6 separate regions of the Homo sapiens genome follow, and regions 1, 3, 4, 5 and 6 are each linked to region 2. Evidence: promoter capture Hi-C in human tissues and cell types (Jung and others, 2019). All regions are on one chromosome and are shown on one strand. The core of a region is centred on a gene start or on the middle of the fragment in contact, and the rest is flanking DNA. Distances in the headings are between cores, read along the strand shown. Region 1 holds the start of SNORD116-29 (small nucleolar RNA, C/D box 116-29). Region 2 holds the start of SNURF (SNRPN upstream open reading frame). Region 3 has its middle 59 kb from the start of SNHG14. Region 4 overlaps SNHG14 (small nucleolar RNA host gene 14). Region 5 has its middle 17 kb from the start of SNHG14. Region 6 has its middle 41 kb from the start of SNHG14.

Region 1 (3,527 bases), core at 951-3,450, 150 kb after region 2:
GATTTTGTCACTTGTACCAGCTAACGCATCTGGGAGGCAACAAAACAATACTCTCCTGAGGTAACATCGAATTTTTAGTAAATTCATTTTTGTGTGTTGTTTTTATTATTTTTTTAAGTAATTGAGAATTTCATTAGGTGTGCAAGGAGTCACTTAATACAAATAGTATTAGGCATTCAATACTCTCATGAGATATCTGAGCCTTCAGTTTCTTTTATTTTAACATTTTACATTTTTCTCAACTTTAACATCAGAAACATCCTATAAGTGTAATAAAATTCTTATACTTTACATATAGTTACATAGTAAATCCTCCTGTCTTATTTAAGTTTGAAAAATGAACATGTATACTTCTCATTCCCATGTATATAATCTCTTCCCACAGAATGAGGTGGACCAAGAAACTGGGCTTCATACGGATGAATTTATTTTTTTCCCTGTGTGGAGACATAAAGGAAAAGTATAGTGAATAATTCCGCCTCCCACCCACAAGTCCCCATGGGAATTCTCACATGTTAAAAAGCATTTTGTCCTGAAAATAACAACAATTTTTCTTAGGGAATCAGGACACTCCAATGACAGTGAGACTCTGGCTATGCCAGGCAGCCATGGGCTGGTCATTGTGCTGCTGGTCTCCATGATTGAATAGTGTGGGTCATTGGTGACAGATAGCTATGTGCTCAGTGTCTGCCACATATCTCAGGTTCAAAGTCCCTTTTATAAATGTGCCTGGATGGATGACGACTTAAAAATGAATCTCGTTGGAATCTGAGCAAAACGAGTGAGCAAACCACTTCTGTGCAGTTCTGTGAACTGAGGTCAAGCACAGGGACCATGCCAGGCAAACACGTGCAGAGAGTTCAGTTTGGTCAGCAACTGGTACCAAAATGGCCTGTGGTATTGGAAAACAAACCCACTCACATAGCTTACAGCACATGAATTGTACAGAGGTCTGTATGTGTTTGTATATATTTATATATGTTTGTGTACATATATCTTTGGGGATTATATGGCATTTCTTTCAGTGTTTGGCTGGCAGTGTCCATACTCTCATAGTAAACAGAATTACACAAGAGTAGAGGGAACAGTAGGAAATGGTTTTGCCTACCCTAGAGTCTTTTATACATGTTTTTAGGTGCTATAATCTTGTGTGTGAGGTCAGTCTCTCAGGTTCATTAGATGGACAGTGTAAAAGGTATTATGAGGTTTTACATATTATTTATCTATTAAGTAAAAGAAATATATGGAAATTGAAGAGTAGCTTTTATCTATTAAAGAAAAGAATGTATGGAAATTGAAGGGTACTTTCTATTTGTGGAAAGTCTTAACATTTTAATTTCCTTATTGATCTTGTCACAGAAGTTGGAATTTAAGTTTTGCCTGTCACTCAAAGAGAAGCTTTTTAGACATTTGATTAAGGGATTCTAGTAGATGCTATAGTAAACATTTCTAATTGTAAAATGATTAAATTTGCAATTCATAGAGTTTTATGTGGATTTCATTGCCTGATATTCATTATTTTTATTAGTGGGTTTCATAGATGTTTAAAGGGAGATCCTAGTTTTATTGTGTGATACTAAGGGAGGCCTTTTGGTCTTAGAAAACTGACTTTCAGTACTACCCATTTCCAGGGAGTGAGCATAATTTTTATTCTCATACCACATGGGCAAGTGAATATCTATGGTTTATTTCTTATAACTCGTCATTAGTAATTATGAAAGTAAGAAAGTTGACAAATGAAACTCTTTTAATTATGAGGGTTTCATTTGTCGACTTCCTACTTCCTCAGTGTGCTTTGTGTATTGGAGGTAATACTGGAATTGCATGGAATTCCTACTGCTGCTCCAGTAACCTGCTGATTTTGTCACGTGTACCAGATTCGTTGTCTGGCAATGAGAACAATACACTTCAGAGGTAATATTGCAATTTTTAGTAAGTGCATTTTTCCTGGGTTCGTTCTATTATTTTATTTTAGCAAGTAAGATTATAATTGGTTTTTCAAGCAGTCTGTTAATCCAAATGGTGTGAGGCCCTAATAATCTGGTTAGTCATCTGAAGTTTCTGTGTTCTTTGTACAGTATTTTTATACTTCCTCTGTTTTCAAATAACATTAGGATACCCTACTAGCAAAATAATTTAGTATATTTTATATACTTGTGCATAGTAAGCCTGTTGTATATGTACACTATTTGCATGGTTGGCAAATTACATTTGCACTTTTTATTTTTCTATAATTTTTTCCTATTTTCAAAGGTTAATGTGGACCAAAAACTAGATTTCATATAAAAGAGTTTATTCCTTCTACTTGAGGTGTGACATGAAGGAAAGTAATGGAAATAATTCTGCCCTCCCATTCTCAAGGGCCAGGGGGAATTCAAATATTGGTAAGCATTTTGTCTTGAAAGCACCAACATTCTTCTTAGGGGGTCATGACACTCCAATGACAATGAGACCCTGGCTGTGCTTGTCAGTCATGAGACTGGTCACTGGCTGTGATGCTGGTCTTTGTAATTGAATACTGTGGGTTGGCAAGTCCCCAGGTGACAGAAAGATCAGTGTTCAGTGTCTGCCACATATCTCAGGCTTAAGGTCCCTTTTATAAGTGTGCCTGGATCGATGATGACTTAAAAAAATGGAAACCTTGGAAATCTGAACAAAATGAGTGACCAAGACACTTCTGTGAGCTGAGGTCCAGCACAGGGACCATACCAGGCAAACCCGTGGAGGGCGTTCAGTTTGGTCAGGAACTGGTACCAAAACGAACCCACTTGCATATGTTAGAGCAGATGAATTGTACAGAGGCCTATATATCTTCGGGAATTACATGACAATGATTTAAGTGCATGGCTGACAGCCTTCAAACACCTAGTAATCAGGCTTTGGGGTACCAGCGTCAGAGGAGTGAACACTGTAGAAATGGCTGTGCCAGCACTCGAGTCATTCACACTATTTTCGTAGACGCCACAACATTCTTAGTGAGTATCAGCATGTATAGGTATATTATGTAGTCAATTAGAAAGAAATTATCAGTCTTTGCTTGCTATTTATTCTTTCACTAAAAGAAATATGTGAAAATTGAAGAGTGGGTTGTATTCATGGGATTATCTTATTACATGCTGGAATTTGCTTCCTAACTCAGTCTCAAGGATTAGAACAGCATTTGTTTTTCTTTTTCCTGTCACTCAGGGAGCAATTTTCTAAGCATTAGATGATAGATTAAATTAGATGCTTCATTAAACATTTTAATGTGAAATAATGAAATTTCTAATTCTAGGGATTTTAGATGGATATTGTTGGCTAATAGGAATATTCCTTCATTGAGTCTTTGTATATTTTAAGAGAGATTCTAATTTTAGTAATACTCGGGGCCTTTGGCCTTCGAGACCAAAATCTTGGAAACATTGATTTTCTGTACTTACCCTGTTCCAAGCAACAAGCAGATTTTTTAGTTATGTGGATAGTCAAGTGACTATGGCTAATTAATTACAAACTGTTGTCAGGAATCATTCAGTTGGGAAGGTTTTGTT
Region 2 (3,438 bases), core at 894-3,393:
AGAAACCTAAAGAAACATGATTATAATGTTTGTGGCATGTAAGTTTGGTGTCCACAATGGAAAAAGGATATTAGGAAAAAAAAGAAATATAAGATATAGAAATTAGTTAAAACAATGAGAATAAAAAATGAACACCCAATTCCTGCTCCTAGAAGAAGTAGTACTCTAACATTTGGTGAAGTTCTAAGAGCCAACATTTTTACCCAGCTTATACTAGGACCTGTTCTAAATAGTATTTTAGCTCATTTAATTGTTAAGCCATTGTATAAAGTAAACAGAATCCCTTCTTTTGTTACAGATTAGGAATTTAATGCACAGAGGGTTAGATAACTTGCTCAAAGTAACATTGTGGTCAAGAGTCAAAGCTAGAATTTGAATCAAAAGAGCCTGAGTCCAAAGGCATGGTTTTCATCACTGGACTATAATGGTGTGTATTCTTTCATAATTTTTTCAGTGTAAAACTGAACATACAGTATGCTTTTATTTTATTTATTTTTTTGAGATGGAGTCTTGCCCTGTCACCAGGCTGGAGTGCAGTGGTGTGATCTCAGCTCACTGCAACCTCCGCCTCCCACGTTCAAGCAATTCTCCTGCCTCAGCCTCCCGAGTAGCTAAGATTACAGGCATGTGCCATCACGCCCAGCTAATTTTTCTGTTTTTTGTAGAGATGGGTTTCACCATGTTGGCCAGGATGGTCTCGATCTCCTGACCTCGTGATCTGCCCACCTCGGCCTCCCAAAGTGCTGGGAATACAGGCGTAAGCCACTGTGCCCAGCCTACATTTTATTTTTCGATTGACTCCCGTGATCAGAGTCAACTTCCCATGTTATTTTATGTGAATATGTATCAATGAACTATTAGAAATTGCAATGTTTTTGTAGGTCAAAACAATTCAATATTGACAATTTTATATGATTCAGCCTAATACATCATTTTTTCCATCAGCCATATTGCATGTTATTATTTATATATACGTTTATTTAGTTAGCCTATCTGTTCTCTGTGAGGAACATTACACAGTTTCTGAGATTTTGTTACGATAGAAGTCAGCATTGATAAGCCTCTGCGCACCTGTTTTAATGTAGGATCATTGGGAACTGAGCAGTAGCTTACAGGGCTTGGGAGGGGATTTAACCATTTAGTCAACCTCCACTCACATCACCCTCCCTTCTTCGATAATGGGCAATTGAGAAAGGGCAAATGTGTGTAAAAACTATGCAGATGCAGTTTCAGGATTATTTTCTTCTTTTCTGCAGTGTCTTTTCCCAAGCTACATCAGCGTCTAAATTTTGGAGTTACTGATGCTTCCGTTATTTCTGCAGATAGAATATTATGTCGTAAATAATGTTTACTTGTCCATTAGTATTATATAAAAGTGCCTGTTTCTCCCCACTCCAGCTATCATTGATTATTGGTAAAAATTTTAATGTATCCAATTCTAATAGGCAAAGAAAGGCTCTCCTACTTAGATCTTAGGTGGGGGTCTAAGTTCATATTTTTGTTTTACAAAAATTGAATAGCCAGTGTTTTTGAGTTGAATGATCTATCCATTCCGTATAGGAGAGTTTAATTATATTGTGATTTTGGGGGAGATAATTTTCACAATTTACCCCCTCAAAATGTAGAAAGTAGAAAAAGGGTAGAAAAATCGCACCAAATTTGAACAATGTAGCATGCTTTTAGAGTTAGGGATATTTTCTTTTGGAAGGATTTCAAGTCTGGCGTATTTGCATTGATTGTGGTTATGGCGCATTTAACTTTTCCAAACCAGCTTTTTTGTACCGCACATAGGAAGACCTGAGGGTGAGTGTAAATTAGGATTGTTTGGCCAGTGGTGTGTGCAAAAATTTATTGTAGAACCAAGAATTATTTCTTTAGTATTTTACACATTTTAAAAAACAGGTAGACATGTCCATTGATCCCAGGTTGCTTATGGTTTCTAGAGGCCCCCTCTCATTGCAACAGTGCTGTGGGGCCCTAGGGGTCCAGTAGCCCCCTCCCCCCAGGTCATTCCGGTGAGGGAGGGAGCTGGGACCCCTGCACTGCGGCAAACAAGCACGCCTGCGCGGCCGCAGAGGCAGGCTGGCGCGCATGCTCAGGCGGGGATGTGTGCGAAGCCTGCCGCTGCTGCAGCGAGTCTGGCGCAGAGTGGAGCGGCCGCCGGAGATGCCTGACGCATCTGTCTGAGGAGCGGTCAGTGACGCGATGGAGCGGGCAAGGTCAGCTGTGCCGGTGGCTTCTCTCAAGAGACAGCCTGGGGAGCGGCCACTTTTATTCATCAGATATTCCAAGTTTTTAGGACTTGGAGTACTGAATAAACGGAATTTGGGCCCTAAAGTCCTTTGTTCTGGAGAACCAGATCCGGAATGTTCAGAGGCTTGCTGTTGTGCCGTTCTGCCCCGATGGTATCCTGTCCGCTCGCATTGGGGCGCGTCCCCCATCCGCCCCCAACTGTGGTGTCGCGACAGGTCCTATTGCGGGTGTCTGCGGTGGGAAGGGCGGTGGTGACTGGGAGCATGCGGGGTAACCGCAGTGGGCAAGGGACATGGGTGGAGGTGGGTACATCAGGGTGATTGCAGTTCCGTGTGGCGAGGGTACGTGGGGGGACCAGTGCATAGGGATTTTAGGCGGAGGTAGGTATATTGGAGTGATTGTGGCGGGGCGAAGGTACGTGAAGTGATCGGTATTTAGGGGGTGTTGAGCGCAGGTAGGTGTATAATAGTGACCACTGCGTGGTGGAGCAGGGTACGTGGGGCGACTGGGGGGGGAATTCGTCGCAGTGACCGAGGCGAGGAGGCTATGGCAGTGGACCAGGGGGATGAGTCGGTGTGACAGTGGTGGGGGTTGTGTTGGTGGTCGCGGCGCGGGGAGAGTCCGTAGGAAGTGGCTGGGAGGTAGGGGGAAGGCGGCGACAGTGGGTATTGGCGGCGGTGGGCATTGGCAGCGGGTAGGCATGGCGGTGGTGGACTTTGGCGGCGGTAGGCATGGCGGCGGTGGGCATGGCATGGAGGCGGTGGGCATGGCGGCCGCGGGGCCTGTCGCTGTCCGGAGTGACTAAGGGACGCTGAATGATTGCTGTGTAGAGGAGGGGGCATCAGAAGGGGCAGTAGCACAGTCCGCAGCCTTTAATTTTCCTGTGACCTGCGATGGTCATCTGGTTTGCCTACTGTGGTGGTGGTGCTTTTTTATTAAAACTGCGCAATGCCTACACTGCCGCAGGGGCTGCAGAAATGCGTGGAATCCTTGCGTACCCTTTAGGAACCCTCGCTTTAGAGGCTATGGCATAAGAAGACTGGAATGATGTGCAGAACTTGCATTTACAGATCTTTTGACTGATAGGCCAGGTGATGCCTGGGGGTTACTTTTTTTTCATTGTTTCTCTCTGTTGGGAACCAGGTCTTGGAAGGCTATGTCGAAATAACCTGGGGGTCTGTGTTG
Region 3 (3,314 bases), core at 612-3,111, 190 kb before region 2:
ATGGTGTTGAAAATCATTTTATATGCTTAAAGGAGTTTGTATTGCTTCTTTGGAGAAATGTCACACAATTTACCAATTTAATTTTTTTATTTTTAAATTTTGTGGGTATATAGTAGGTTTATATATTTATGGTGTACATGAGATGTTTTGGTACAGGCATGCAATGTGTAATAATCACATCATGGAGAATGGGGTTTCCATCCCCTCAAGCATTTATCCTTTGCATTACAAATAATTCAATTACATTCTTTTAGTTATTTTTACATGCACAATTAAGTTGTTATTGACTATAGTCACCTATTGTGCTATCAAATGCTAGACCTTATTCATTCTTTTGTGCTATCAAATGCTAGACCTTATTCATTCTTTTGTGCTATCAAATACTAGATCTTATTCATTCTTTCTATTTCTTGGGCCTATTAATTACCCCACCTCCTTTCTAGCCTCCCACTGCCCTTCCCAGCCTCTGGTAACTAACCAGTCATCTACTCTCTATGTCCATGAGTTCAGTTGTTTTGTTTTTAGCTTCTACAAATAAGAACATAGGAAGTTTGCCTTTCTGTGCCTGGCTTATTCCACTTAACATAACTATCTTTAGCTCCATCCATGCTGTTGCAAATAATGGGATCTCATTATTTTTTATAGCTGAATAGTAGTCCATTGTGTATATGTACCACATTTTCTTTTTCCATTCATCTATTGATGGACACTTAGGTTCTGTGGTATTGTTAAAGAAAACAAAACCAGACACTAAAGTGATAAGGACAGATTTTAATTCGTAATGACTATTGTAATAGCGGGGAGGATCCAGAGTAAACTGAACTCAACTTTGAATTGCACAATGGAAAGTGGGCTTTTTAAAGGAAGAATGAGGGAGTGGGGTAGGGGAGAGGGATGAGCAGGGCCTTACTAGAGTTGAAACTGCCTTTGCAAATATTATGTCAGTGAGAAAAAATGTAACAGTAAACTAAACTAACCCACCCCCTTTCTTGCCTTTCCCTTAATTATTTCTGGGCTGTTGGGCTGAGCTAACTTTGTAAGAAATTTAGGCTACAGTGTAAAAGATAATAGGCCTTCCCTAAAACTCAACTGCTTTTGTAAAGCTAATGGGAGGCTTATCAGGATGTGGGGAGGAGAGGCGCCTGGGTCCTGCTAAGGTGCAGACATTATCCGTAGGTTATAAGACATGCAACTTCCCCAATTACTCCTGCAAATAACACCACTATTGTAGATTGGCCTTTTGAGATATCTTTCCAGGTTTTTTACAAGTCTGACACCTATGGCTCCACCTAAACCTGACGGTTCCACCTGGACTGCCAGTCCCACCCACGCCTAAGGCCCCACCAGAAGCGATTTGGCCCTCAGGAGAACAGCCTCGACCCCCACTATGATTTCATCTCCACCCCAACTAATCAGCAGCAAGCACATGTTACCTGACCACCCCCACCTCTTCCCCCAAATTGCTTTTAAAAAACCCTAATCTATGCAATTCAGGTGAGATGATTTGGGTATAAACCCTATCTCCCATGTGGTGTGGCCAGCCCTGTGTCTATTAAACTCTTTCTCTACTATAATGCCTTGGTCCGTCTTTATTCACCGGGCAACAAGAACCCTTCAGGTGGTTACAGAGTCAGGAAAGTGAAAAACCACAAAGGCTGGTTAAGCGTAACTGTGCTTAGGCCAGCTGTGTCTGCTAGCTGGCAGTTATTGAGGTTAGGATTCTATCTTTCCACAGAGAATAGGAGACAGAAGCCCTATCCTTCCCAGTGATAACATTTCAAAGCAATGACTTTCAGGTCTTTGAGAAAGGCTCTCTTGAGTTGAAAGGGAAACATATGTATCTCAAAGGGACAGAGGAAGGATTCAAAATGGTAAGCTTTTTAATAATTGTTCTAAGAAAGTGTGGCCAGGGGCCTATTCTCAGGTGTTGGCTGGAACAAAAAGTAAATTTTTTTGGCAGCCTTGACTCATACTGCGGTTAACGACCTTGCGCTAGTAGAAACTGTTTTAGTGTTTGGCTAAGTCTTTTAATGTGGTAGGAGAGGGGTTGAATGAAATAATTTATACGGGGAGTCTGCAGTTCTTATTTGTAGGTCACAGTTAAAGTCTAGTCCAGAAGAGGGCTCAGAAGAGCCTAGCTAGAGTTTGACCAAGAAGTGAAACTCTGTCACTATCAAAGATTATATTGGATCCCAAAATTCATACAGAATCTCAATGGACTCTGAATACTCAAAGTAATCTTTAAAAAGAACAATATTGAAGGTCTCATACTTCTTGATTTCAAAACTTATTACAAAGCTACAGAAATCAAAACGGTGAGGTGCTGGCATAAAGACAGATATATAGACTAATAGAACAGAGAGCCCAGAAATAAGCCTTCACATATGTAGTCAAAGGATTTTTTGTAAAGATGTCAAGGCCATTCAACTGAGGAAAGATCGTTTTTTCAACAAATGATGTAGGGAAAATTGGGTATCCCCACACAAAAGAATGAATTTGGAGCCTTACCTTATACTGTATATTTTAAAAATTCAAAATGGATCGAAACCTAAATATAAGAGCTAAAAGTCTAAAACTCTTTGAAGAAAACATAGGTGAAAAGTTTATTACTATCAGACTTAGCAGTGATTTACTGGATATGCCACCAAAAGCATAGGAAACAAAAGTAAAAATTTATAAATTGAAATGTATCAAAATTAAAACCTTCTGTGTATCAGAGAACACAATCCATACACTAAAAAGGCAGTATACAGAATGGGAGAAAATATTTGCAAATCCTATATCTGATAAGGAGTTCATATTCAGAACATGTAAACGACTACAACTCAACATTAAAAAAACTGATTTTAAAAAATGGGTAAAGGACTTGAATAGACATTTCTCCAAAGAAGATACATACATGGCCAATAAGCACATGGAAGGATGCTGAATATCATGGTTATCAGGGAAATGCAAATCAAATGCACAATGAGATATCACCTCAAACCAATTTGGATGATTACTATACAAAAAAAAACTGTGAAATCCAGAAAACAAAAAATGTTGGTGAGGATGTGGAGAAATTGGAATCCCTGTACACTGTTGGTGGGGAGACAAAATGGTATACCCTCTAGAGAAAGCCATTTGGTAGTTCCTCAACAAGTTAAAAATTGTATTACCATATAATCCAGAAATTTAATTTCTGGGCATGTACCTGAAAGAATTGAAAGCAGAGTCTTGAAGAGATATTTGTGCACTCATGTTTATAGCAGCATTATTCACATTAGCCAAAACATGGAAGCAATTCATGTATCCACTGACAGATGAATAGATGA
Region 4 (3,534 bases), core at 719-3,218, 200 kb after region 2:
CACAAATTTTAAAAAATCATTTAGGAGTTTGGGGGATCCAAGATGGAACACAGTGTCTGACAAAAGAATCCAGGTGTTTTACAAATGTATTAGACAAGCTTACGAATAATGTTGGGGAGAAAAGATAATGACTTAAGTAACTTTGAAAATGAGTGGAATCTGTTAAGACTAGAGGCAAAGTGACTGTACAGGAGCACTGCACACTATTTGATAAAGTTGTTTTCTGTAGGTGTATGAGTTAGCAATTCTAAATCATGATACATATGTATATTGGAATTGAACAATTAAGTAAATGGTTGGCAGATGGTGTACATTTTCTTATTGTTGGAATGAAAAGTTACAGACAAGAAGAAAAGAATGATTTGTGTTGTAATGGATTAGAGTTGGAAACGTCAGTGTAAACTTATGTTTAGTTTAATATGCAGACAGATGGTTACACATAGAAATATAGATGCATGTATTTACATAGTTATTGTACACACCCTGTGTCAACTGAGAATGCTTAGAAGCAATGACACTCTAGTAACAATGGGCACACCTAGAACCCAGCCCTTAGTTTCTAATACCATTCTCCAATAGAACAAATCAGGGATCCTTGTAGAAATGGCTGATTCTAAGACTGGTTAGGAAATGTACAAGATGAGCCTGGAGCATCATATAGTGCCAGAGAGTAAGGAAGTACTAAAACAAGAACCCCACATTGATGAAAGTATATCAAAGGGACTCAGGAACCAACCAAAAGAGCTTCCAGTGGTCAAATCTGGAACAAATTTTTAAAAATAAATAGCATAATATTAGATTACAACCCAAAGTATAAAATATCCATGAATCCATATTGATGTAAATAATCAAATGAATAAATAAACTGGGGAGAACATAGATTTTTTGTGCAGAATAATTTCATATAGTTTTTATAGATACTTTTGCCCTTAAGGAGGTTGAACTCCTTACTCGTCAAGTGTGGGAAGAAAGTCATTAGGCACATTGGTGACTTTCTTTCAAAGAGTACAGGGTGGAAATGGGGGATGGAAGGGAAGAGTAACTGTGCAGGGGAGAAACCTGACAAGCACTATCTCTACATGGTAATCAAGGTTAACATCAGTAGTGATAAATCATGCTGATAGTATATACCTTTGATATGACGTGATAAAAATTGCACTTTACCTCTACAGTCTTCCTCCCAAAAACCCATAAGATCAGTATCATTATGAGAAAAATCATCAAACAAATCCCACATGAGATATACTCTACAAAATACTTGACTAGTTTTGCTCAAAACTGTGAAGGTCCTCAAAAAGGAAAGCTTGAGAAAGTGTGACAGTCAAGAAGAGCCTAAATAGACAAGACAACTAAATGGAATATGGCATCCTATATGGGATCCTAGAAGAGTAATAGTACATTATGTAAAACTATGGAAATCTGAATAAAGTGGGCTTTAGTTAATAATAATCTATCAATATTGGTTCGTTGAGTGTGACAAATGTGCCATATTAATACAAGATGTTAACAGGAGGGGAAACTGGGTATAGGGTATTTGGGAACTCTGTTTCAGCTTCACTTTTTAAAAAATCTTCAAATGTTTACTTCAAAAATGAATTCAAAATCACTCAATGTAAATCACTATGGTAACATAAGAGAGAAGAAAAGTTATATGATCATCTCAAAAGAGAAAAAGCATTTGATAAAATATAAAAACTATTCTTTATAAATCTCTTTATTGGAACTACGAATTTATGGGAACTAAAAATTGAAAAAAATTTAATGAGATAAAGGGTATTTACAAAATAAATTAATTGTAAAATTATTGACAGTGGAGATAGAGAAAGCTTTTTTATGAGATTGGGAATAAAAGAGGATTTTTTTTCATCATTTCTATTCATTACTATACTGGATGTCCTAACTAGGGGAGTAGAGTCATAGAATAAGGATTGGAAATGGAAAGGTATAAGTTTCATTATTTACTGACAAGAAACAAGTCTGAACATGATCAATTAAAATTAGGAAGTTAATTGAGCAAGATTGCTGGGTTAAAAAGCAGATAACTAAAATGTATTTCTATGTAAAATGACAAATGAAAAATGAAGTTTTTAAAAGATAACATTTTTGGGAACATCAGAAACATCAATTCCATAGGAAAAAATTCACACAAAATATTATGAAACATTATGGAAAGGAAGCAAGTAATACCTTACAAATGGAGGGATATAATATATTCACAGTGGCAAATTCAATTACATATACTATACATGTTAATTCTCCCCCAAATTCACTTAAAGATCCCAACGTAAGAGCATTCTAAATCTGAATGCCATTTATTAAATGTTCAATCTAATTTCAAGAATTATATATGACACAAAAAGTCAAGAAGAGCCAAGATAGTCTTGATGAAGATGACAATTTTGCATGAGTTACATGGCCAAAATTTAAGGCCTACTATTGCAAGGTTACAGTTACTGACAAAAGACAGAAAACTAGCCTAATGGAGCAAAATAGAGACTCCACTCCACAAGCAGATCAATAGATATATGATTACTTGCTTTATGATAAAAGTGCCACTCCTGCATGATGAGGAAAGAATGGTTTGTTCAATAGTTAGTGCTGGATATCAATACATAAAAAAGTGAATTCCTTTTCAAACCATACAGATCCATCATTTCTAGGTGTAATGTTGGTCTATTCATGAAAGGCAAAACAGTAAAGCTTCTTGAGCATAGCATAACATAGGAGGGTGTCATCATAATTTGGCAGAAAGTGAAAAATACCAATAACACTAAGCATAAAGGAAAATATTGATGAATTAGTCTGCATCCAAATTAAAATTTTTATTTCTCAAAGTATATAATCAGTGAAGAAGCATCGTATAAAAGATACAACTTGTACATGTCAAAAAGTTAGAAAACACTTAAATGGGTACTTCACAAAAGAGGATATCTGAATGGCCAATAAGCCTATGAAAAGGTATTCAAGGTCATTAGCCATGAGAAAAATAATTCAGACAACAATCAGATAAACATCTTCCAGTATATCTAGACAGTCCCCAATTTATAATGGTTTGATTTATGATTTTTCCACTTTATGATGTTGTGAAAGTGGTATGCATTCAGTAGAAACCATACCTTGGATTTTGAATTTTCATTTCCCGGGCTAGCCACTGGCAGTATGATACTCTAGTGAGGCTAGGCAGCAGCAGTGAGCCATAGCTCCTAGCAGTCATGCAGTTATGAAGGTAAACAACCAATACTTCATCGCGTACTGTGCTGCCACCATTTTGACCCACTGTAGGCTAATGTAAGTGTTCTGAGCACATTTAAGGTAGGCTAGGCAAAGCTATGATGTTCAGTACATTAGGTGTACTAAAAGCATTTTTTATTTACAGTGTTTTTAACTTATAGTAGGTTTATTAGGAGGTAACTCCTTCATAAATCAAGGATCATCTGTTTAAAATTTGAAAGTGTGTGTTTTTTAGAATTCTCTTAGTATTCACTGAAGTTGAATGGAGGCAACATACTCTCAGGTATATGGTTAACAAAAATT
Region 5 (3,303 bases), core at 494-2,993, 150 kb before region 2:
ATAGGAATTCCAGTAGTCCACTAGTAAGTCTAATATCTATAATAGGTAGGTAGAAGAAAAATGGAGTTGGTCAACTTACATGAAAATATGCTTAAGCTTATTTCATCAATAACCAATCAGAATATAGCTGAAGAGTCACCCTGATTTAACACTGATAAATGGATGGTCACAGTGGGAAAAGGTGTATTCCATTAATGTTAAAGTGCACACTTCCACATTTTTCAAAGGGTTGTGTTTTAATATGGGTATTGTAAGAAAATGACTGGCCAGACAGCATGATACGGTTGCCATCTTGTGCACAGGCATGAAGTTGGTCTAGAAACCTATTATTGTCACCCTCTGATAATATCATTATCATCAAAACTTTTAGAGTAGCTGTCAGTAGGTTACAAATATAATCTCACAGAGGATAATACAGAACTCTCTAAAGATATGAGGCAAAGCCAAAGCTTATGATAAGCACAGGTGATGATAATTTGAGGAAAGTCATGAAAACGGTGAGTTGAGAAGTGATTCAGAAGAGTTTGATCTCATGAGAGCTATTTTAGGATTATCTCTGTTAATGTATCCTGTTTTAATTTTTCATCTCATGTACTCATAGGAGTGATATAAGATAAATAACATGTTGAATTCACTTCCTGTGTATATATTCCCAGAAGTGGAATAGCTGGATAATATGGTAGTTCTATTTTTAGTTTTTTGAAACCTTCATTTTTTTTTCCACAATGGCTGTACTAATTTGCATTCCCACCCACAGGGATTCCCTTTTCCACATTTATTTAAGTTCAATAAAATTGTAATCAATAATAATATAAAAATTCTAAGTGATAATAAATATTTGTGTCACAGTTTTTCAGTGGTTTTATTTTTTGTGGCAAAAAAATAATGGTGCATTTTACCAATGATGCATCTTGTAATTACTTAGGAAAAGCTGTCAGTATTAGCAAATTCTAATTTAGTTGTTAGTATAGACCTGCATTAGTCTATGTGCTCTATGTATTACTAGTTCCTTTAAACCTCACAACATCCCAAGAGGTAGGCAATATTATCACTTCCATGCTCCAGTTCTGAATCTTAGCTAAAGCACTTCAGTAAAAAATAGGAGATGCTGGAGCTTGACTGGGTCTGTCTCCAGAGTCCTTGCTCACATTAGCTATGTTACGATATATTTTGTGATAAGAACCTTCTAGATCTAGTTTCAGAAATCTTATATACCCCATGGTCATGAAGCTATTCTCCTAAATTAGGTCCTAAATACCGTACTAATTTTTTTTAAAAAAATATCTAGGTCCGGCCAGGCACGTTGGCTCACGCCTATAATCCCAGCACTTTGGGAGGCCAAGGTAGGCAGATCATAAGGTCAGGAGTTCGAGACCAGCCTGACCAACATGGTGAAACCCATCTCTACTAAAAATAAAAAAATTAGGCATGGTGGCGTGCACCTGTAATTCCAGATACTCAGGAGGCTGAGGCAGGAGAATCATTTGATCCTGGGAGGCAGAGGTTGCAGTGAGCTGAGATTGTACCACTGCATGCCAGCTTGGGTGACAGAGCGAGGCTCTGTCACAAAATATATATATATCTAGGTCAGTGATCCATCTGGAATTGATTAATTTTGAAATGTGAGATCAAATGTCTATTTTATTTTCTCCTACGGATATTTAATTTTTTGGAACATATATTGAAAAATCAATATTCCCTATTTATCTTTCTTTACACTATTTTTCTTACATATTCTTTTGTCCTTTTTTGAGCTTTCTTTTTTCATTTGTTTATTTCTGTATTTTTCTGCGAATACTAAAGTAACTCAGTTACTGAGAGACTTCATTTTACACAAGAATTTTCCCTCCAGAGTCCATTCTCTTCATCACTGTGCTGTTCTAGAATGAAGAAATGAAAGAGTAGGATCCTGCATTCCTTGCACCCCAACCAAAAATACCAGGTGTACTTTGTTTTGTTTTGTTTTGTTTCAATAGAGTTTAAGACTTCAGAACATGACTGTTGACACTAATGTCTCTAACGTCTTTGTGACTCTCAGACAACCCCAACCAACTTCACTACCACTTTATTTTTCAGTAACAAATCAGTGAATTTTATGTGATTTTGTGCCTTCTCTTCCACCACTCTGGGCTTTCTCTATCCTTAGAAACATTGGCAGGAGCTTGGAGAGTCATCCCTGGGTGCATCCCGCTCATGTGGATGAGCCTCAGTGGACTTGGTCTTACTCCTCTGGACCATGACCCATCAAAGTCCTGGCTGTGGCAGGCAAAGCTGAGCTGAGGGCTCTCTGTGAGGCCTGCATGGGCAAAACCAGCTGCTCCCAACACTCCCTAAGTGATCTGTTTGGGTATTCATTCTGTTTTTAATAAAGAATGAGTTTGTTCAACAATGACTGAGCTTGCTGACCAAGGATAATTACCCTTCAGACCTTGTCTGATAATGTTTGTTCTTGCTTTTGCTTTGGCACACAGTTTTCAACACTTTGTATTAATTTTTATTTGTTTTGGTCACATAACAATTTCTGCAACCAAATTCATATTTTTGTCTTGTGTATTAATTTCATTATTGTATTTAATAATGCACTTATACCCATTTTTCATAAAACCTTTTCAATTATTTTCATCTTTTCAGTCATAAAATTTTCCTAAATAGAATAGGAATATGACTTTTATTGGGAAAAGCAGATGCTACACACCCTTTTTCCGTGTTTTCCAGGAATTTCCACTGAAGTACCTCTGGTTGAAAAGGAGAACAGAGACTTTTTTCACAGCCACAGGACAAAATTTGTTCAGAATTAAATGCTGAAAAAGGAGGTATGATTGTTTTCATTATATGGCTTAGTTTGTTATAATTGTGGAAGATGCACAAGGCATTAGTTTATACAGGCAGAATACTGAATCTTCAATTCTGAATGCAAAGAATAGCCATTTTGTCACTGAGCAAGCATAAATATCATACTGTTACTCTTTATCCAAAAGCTATAGACATGGCTGAAGTCTTTGATTCCTTCTAACTTGTTGTAAATGTATGCATGTAATTTCCTTGTACACATGGACCATAATATAAATATCTATAGTTTTCTTGCAATTCAGTGAGTTACTACTAAAACTGTTTACAGTTTTCAGTAAAATAATAAATGTAACTCAAGAAATCTGTAAATACATCTCCAGGAAGCACAAATTCTTGTAGAAAGGGAATTGCCATCTTTACTTATTTTTTTTTTTTGGTCATCTCCTAGCAAAATATTTTTAAAGGTTTTCATGCTTATGAGTTTTTTAGATTTTTGTTTGCATTGGCTCAGTC
Region 6 (3,199 bases), core at 258-2,757, 170 kb before region 2:
GACAGGGTTTCACCATGTTGGCCAGGCTGGTCTCAAAACTCCTGACCTCAGGCGATCCACCTGCCTCGGCCTCCCAAAGCGCTGGGATTACAGGCCTGAACCACCTTTGTATACTGCAAAGTTACTGAACTTGTTTTTAGATTCTAATCTTACTTTACTGAATTCCTTAGGATTTTCTATACACAGGATTATGTCATTTGCAAACAAAGATGGTTTAACTTCTTCCTTTCTATTGTGAATGTCTTACATTTTTTGTAGCCTAATTGTCCTGGCTACATCCTCCAATACTCTGTTGAATAGAAGTGGCAAGAGTGGACCTCAGTGTCTTATTTCTAATCCTGGAGAAATTACTGAGGCTTCCATGACATTGTATGTTTCTATGTGAATTTTTAATTGATGCTCTTTATAGGCAAAGTTCCCTTCTATGCTTCATTTGCTCAATGTTTTCATAAATGCTCCAATCATAAATGGGGTTTTAATTAGTCAAATGCTTATTCTTCATCTTAAGTGATCATGTGTTTTTACTCTTTATACTATTTAGATAGTATATTTTACTAATTGTTTTTGTATGTTTATCCAAACTTGCAATGCTGGAATAAATACCCTTGGTCATAGTGTATATCCTTTGTCTACGGTGCTTTTGTGTTTTGATAGTTTTTCCTTGAGGATTCTCGTATTTATAAGGCATGTTGGTCTCTAATTTTCCTTTCTTACAATGTCTTTTTCCAGTTGTAGTATCAGGTTAACTGACTTCATAAAATGCATTGGGAAGTGCTCTCTTTTTCCTTTTTGGTTTTCGTTCCTTTGTTTGTTTTCTTCTTCTCTTGGGAGAGGAGTTAGTGAAGGATTGTTATAAATTCTTTAAAGTTTTGGTATAATTTACTAGTGAAGTAATCTCACCCTGGGCATGTAATTGAATCCTAACAACAATCTGTGAGCTTGGAAGATGATTCCTCCCCAGCTGAACCTTCAGCTGAGACTTCAGCCTAGACATCATCTACACCAGGATTCATGCCCTAAAGAAACAGTGAGTAATATGTGTGTGTGTGGTTTTGAGGCACTTTGCTGTATAAATGAGTTATACAGCAATAAATAAGTAATAAACCTGACAGTTAATGTACTGTGGCATCTGGAATGAATCATTGACAGAAAAAGTGACATTAATGTAAAATCGGGTAAAGTATAAAGACAGTCTGTATTTCAGTTAATGGTTTTTACCACATTCAATTTTATTTGTTTTCACAAATATGTTATGGCTATTTAAGATGTTAAGATTGCAAGAAGCTGAATGGTATACAAAACTCTTTATATTCTCCTTATACCTTTCAGTAATCTAAAATTAATTGTTATTTTTAATTGTCAGATAATAAGTGTATGTACTCTTACTCATGGGGTTAATTGTGGTGTTTTGTTATATGTATACATTGTGGAATGGTCAAATTAGGCTAATCATCATATCCATTACCTCAAATATTTATTATTTCTTTGTGGTGAGAACATTTAAAATCATCTCTTTTAGCTGTTTTGGGAAATATACAACACATTCTTATTATCTATATTCACCATGCTGTGAAATAAATCACCAGACATTATTCCTCCTGTCTAATAGAAACTTCAAACCCTTTGACCAATGTCTCTCCTTCCCCAACCACCCCTTCATAACAACCTGTGGTAACCACCATATGATTCTCCACTTCTATGAGTTTGACTTCTAAGATTCCACATATAATTGAGATCATATGGTAATCGTCCCTCTGTGTCTAGCCTATTTTACCTAGCATAATGTACTGTAGGTTCATCCAAGTTGTTGCAAATGACAGAATTTCCTATATTTTTAAGGCTGAATGGTATCACATTGTGTATATGTACCACATTTTTGTTAATCCATTTATCCATTAATGAGCTCTTAAATTGTTTCCAAATCTTGGCTAATGTAAATAATGCTGAAATGAACATGAGAGTAAAGACATCTCTTCAACATAGTGATTCCAATTTTTTTGGCATATACCCTGGAGAGAGATTGCTATATCATATAGTAATTCTATTTTTAATTTCTTGTGACACTTCCATAGTATTTTCTAAAATATCTGTACTAATTGACATTCCCACCTACAATGTACAAAGTTTGTCTTTTTTCATTTCCTCACCAACATTTGTTATATTTCATCATCCTGACAATAGCCAAAGTAGCAGGTGTGAGCCAATATCTCATTATGATTTTAATTTACACTTCTCTGATGATTACAAATGTTGAAGAATTTTTTCATATGTCTGTTGGACAGTTGTATGTCTTATTTTGAAGTCCTTTGCCCATTTTTTATGTTGTTACTTATACTCTTGTAATTAAGTAGTGCTGAGACCAGCTCGGTCGTGGAGACCATAATCCTGTGGCACTAGAGGAATTAAAGACACACACACAGAAATGTAGGGTGTGGAGTGGGAAATCAGGGGTCTCACAGCCTTCAGAGCTGAGAGCCCCGAACAGAGACTTACCCACATATTTATTGACAGCAAGCCAGTGATAAGCATTGTTTCTATAGATTATAGATTTACTAAAAGTATTCCCCCATGGGAAACAAAGGGATGGGCCAAAAGGAAGGGATGGGTCTGGCTAGTTATCTGCAGCAGGAACATGTCCTTAAGGCACAGATCACTCATGCCATTGTTTGTGATTTAGGAATGCCTTTAAGCGGTTTTCCGCCCTGGGTGGACCAGGTGTTCCTTGCCCTCATCCCGGTAAACCCACAACCTTCAGCGTGGGCATCATGGCCATCACAAACATGTCACAGTGCTGCAGAGATTTTGTTTATGGCCAGTTTTGGGGCCAGTTTATGGCCAGATTTGGGGGTCTGTTCCCAACAAAGTAGTTTGAGTCTTGTATATTTTTTAAGCATTTCACAATTAAAATCTTATTTTAAAAGTGTTGTTTTGGTACCAAAAAAAAACTACACAGACATAAACAAATAACCTCCATCAGGTAATGATGATTCATTGGATGATGGTCATATACATAGGGAGAGAATAGGAAAGCATCTTCCTTATCTATTCACAATTCTAAATTCAGGTGCATCTGCTTCAGAAAGACACCATCAAGCTCCAGGAACTTTTCTCCTCTTTCTTTTTTCCCACTGGCTTCCCATTACATAGTCACCACTTTCCTGAGTGTCAGTAATCACTTCTTCAAAGAAAGCTTCCTGTG

What was found. The method cuts DNA at HindIII sites, captures the fragments that hold promoters and counts their contacts. A contact is called where the count stands out against the background at its distance.
Region 1: a fragment that was not itself captured here is called in contact with the fragment with the promoter of SNURF in region 2 in 1 of the 25 tissues and cell types used here (stomach).
Region 3: a fragment that was not itself captured here is called in contact with the fragment with the promoter of SNURF in region 2 in 1 of the 25 tissues and cell types used here (dorsolateral prefrontal cortex).
Region 4: a fragment that was not itself captured here is called in contact with the fragment with the promoter of SNURF in region 2 in 2 of the 25 tissues and cell types used here (aorta and spleen).
Region 5: a fragment that was not itself captured here is called in contact with the fragment with the promoter of SNURF in region 2 in 2 of the 25 tissues and cell types used here (H1 embryonic stem cells and spleen).
Region 6: a fragment that was not itself captured here is called in contact with the fragment with the promoter of SNURF in region 2 in 1 of the 25 tissues and cell types used here (lymphoblastoid cells).

What each region holds. Positions count from the first base shown.
Region 1 is chr15:25,103,911-25,107,437 of GRCh38, forward strand. It overlaps SNHG14 (small nucleolar RNA host gene 14), which reads left to right. Exons shown (of 148, transcript NR_146177.1): 51 at 1-60; 52 at 2,254-2,384. SNORD116-29 (small nucleolar RNA, C/D box 116-29) reads left to right here and starts at 2,610; the gene lies at 2,610-2,694. SNORD116-28 (small nucleolar RNA, C/D box 116-28) reads left to right here and starts at 731; the gene lies at 731-823. The HindIII fragment of the contact is 6,332 bases long and covers 1-3,527 here.
Region 2 is chr15:24,952,844-24,956,281 of GRCh38, forward strand. SNURF (SNRPN upstream open reading frame) reads left to right here and starts at 2,144. Exons shown (of 3, transcript NM_001394334.1): 1 at 2,144-2,219. The coding sequence starts at 2,206. SNRPN (small nuclear ribonucleoprotein polypeptide N) reads left to right here and starts at 2,144. Exons shown (of 10, transcript NM_003097.6): 1 at 2,144-2,219. The region is part of intron 4 of SNHG14 (small nucleolar RNA host gene 14); the gene reads left to right. RefSeq lists enhancers at 2,559-3,124, 3,125-3,438. The HindIII fragment of the contact is 13,657 bases long and covers 1-3,438 here.
Region 3 is chr15:24,762,941-24,766,254 of GRCh38, forward strand. No RefSeq gene overlaps it. Among named protein-coding and RNA genes, the nearest start is that of SNHG14, 59 kb to the right of the region's middle. The HindIII fragment of the contact is 3,064 bases long and covers 330-3,314 here.
Region 4 is chr15:25,154,433-25,157,966 of GRCh38, forward strand. All of the region lies in intron 61 of SNHG14 (small nucleolar RNA host gene 14), which reads left to right. Among named protein-coding and RNA genes, the nearest start is that of SNORD115-1, 15 kb to the right of the region's middle. The HindIII fragment of the contact is 4,828 bases long and covers 1-3,534 here.
Region 5 is chr15:24,805,109-24,808,411 of GRCh38, forward strand. No RefSeq gene overlaps it. Among named protein-coding and RNA genes, the nearest start is that of SNHG14, 17 kb to the right of the region's middle. The HindIII fragment of the contact is 8,494 bases long and covers 1-3,303 here.
Region 6 is chr15:24,780,752-24,783,950 of GRCh38, forward strand. No RefSeq gene overlaps it. Among named protein-coding and RNA genes, the nearest start is that of SNHG14, 41 kb to the right of the region's middle. The HindIII fragment of the contact is 6,461 bases long and covers 1-3,199 here.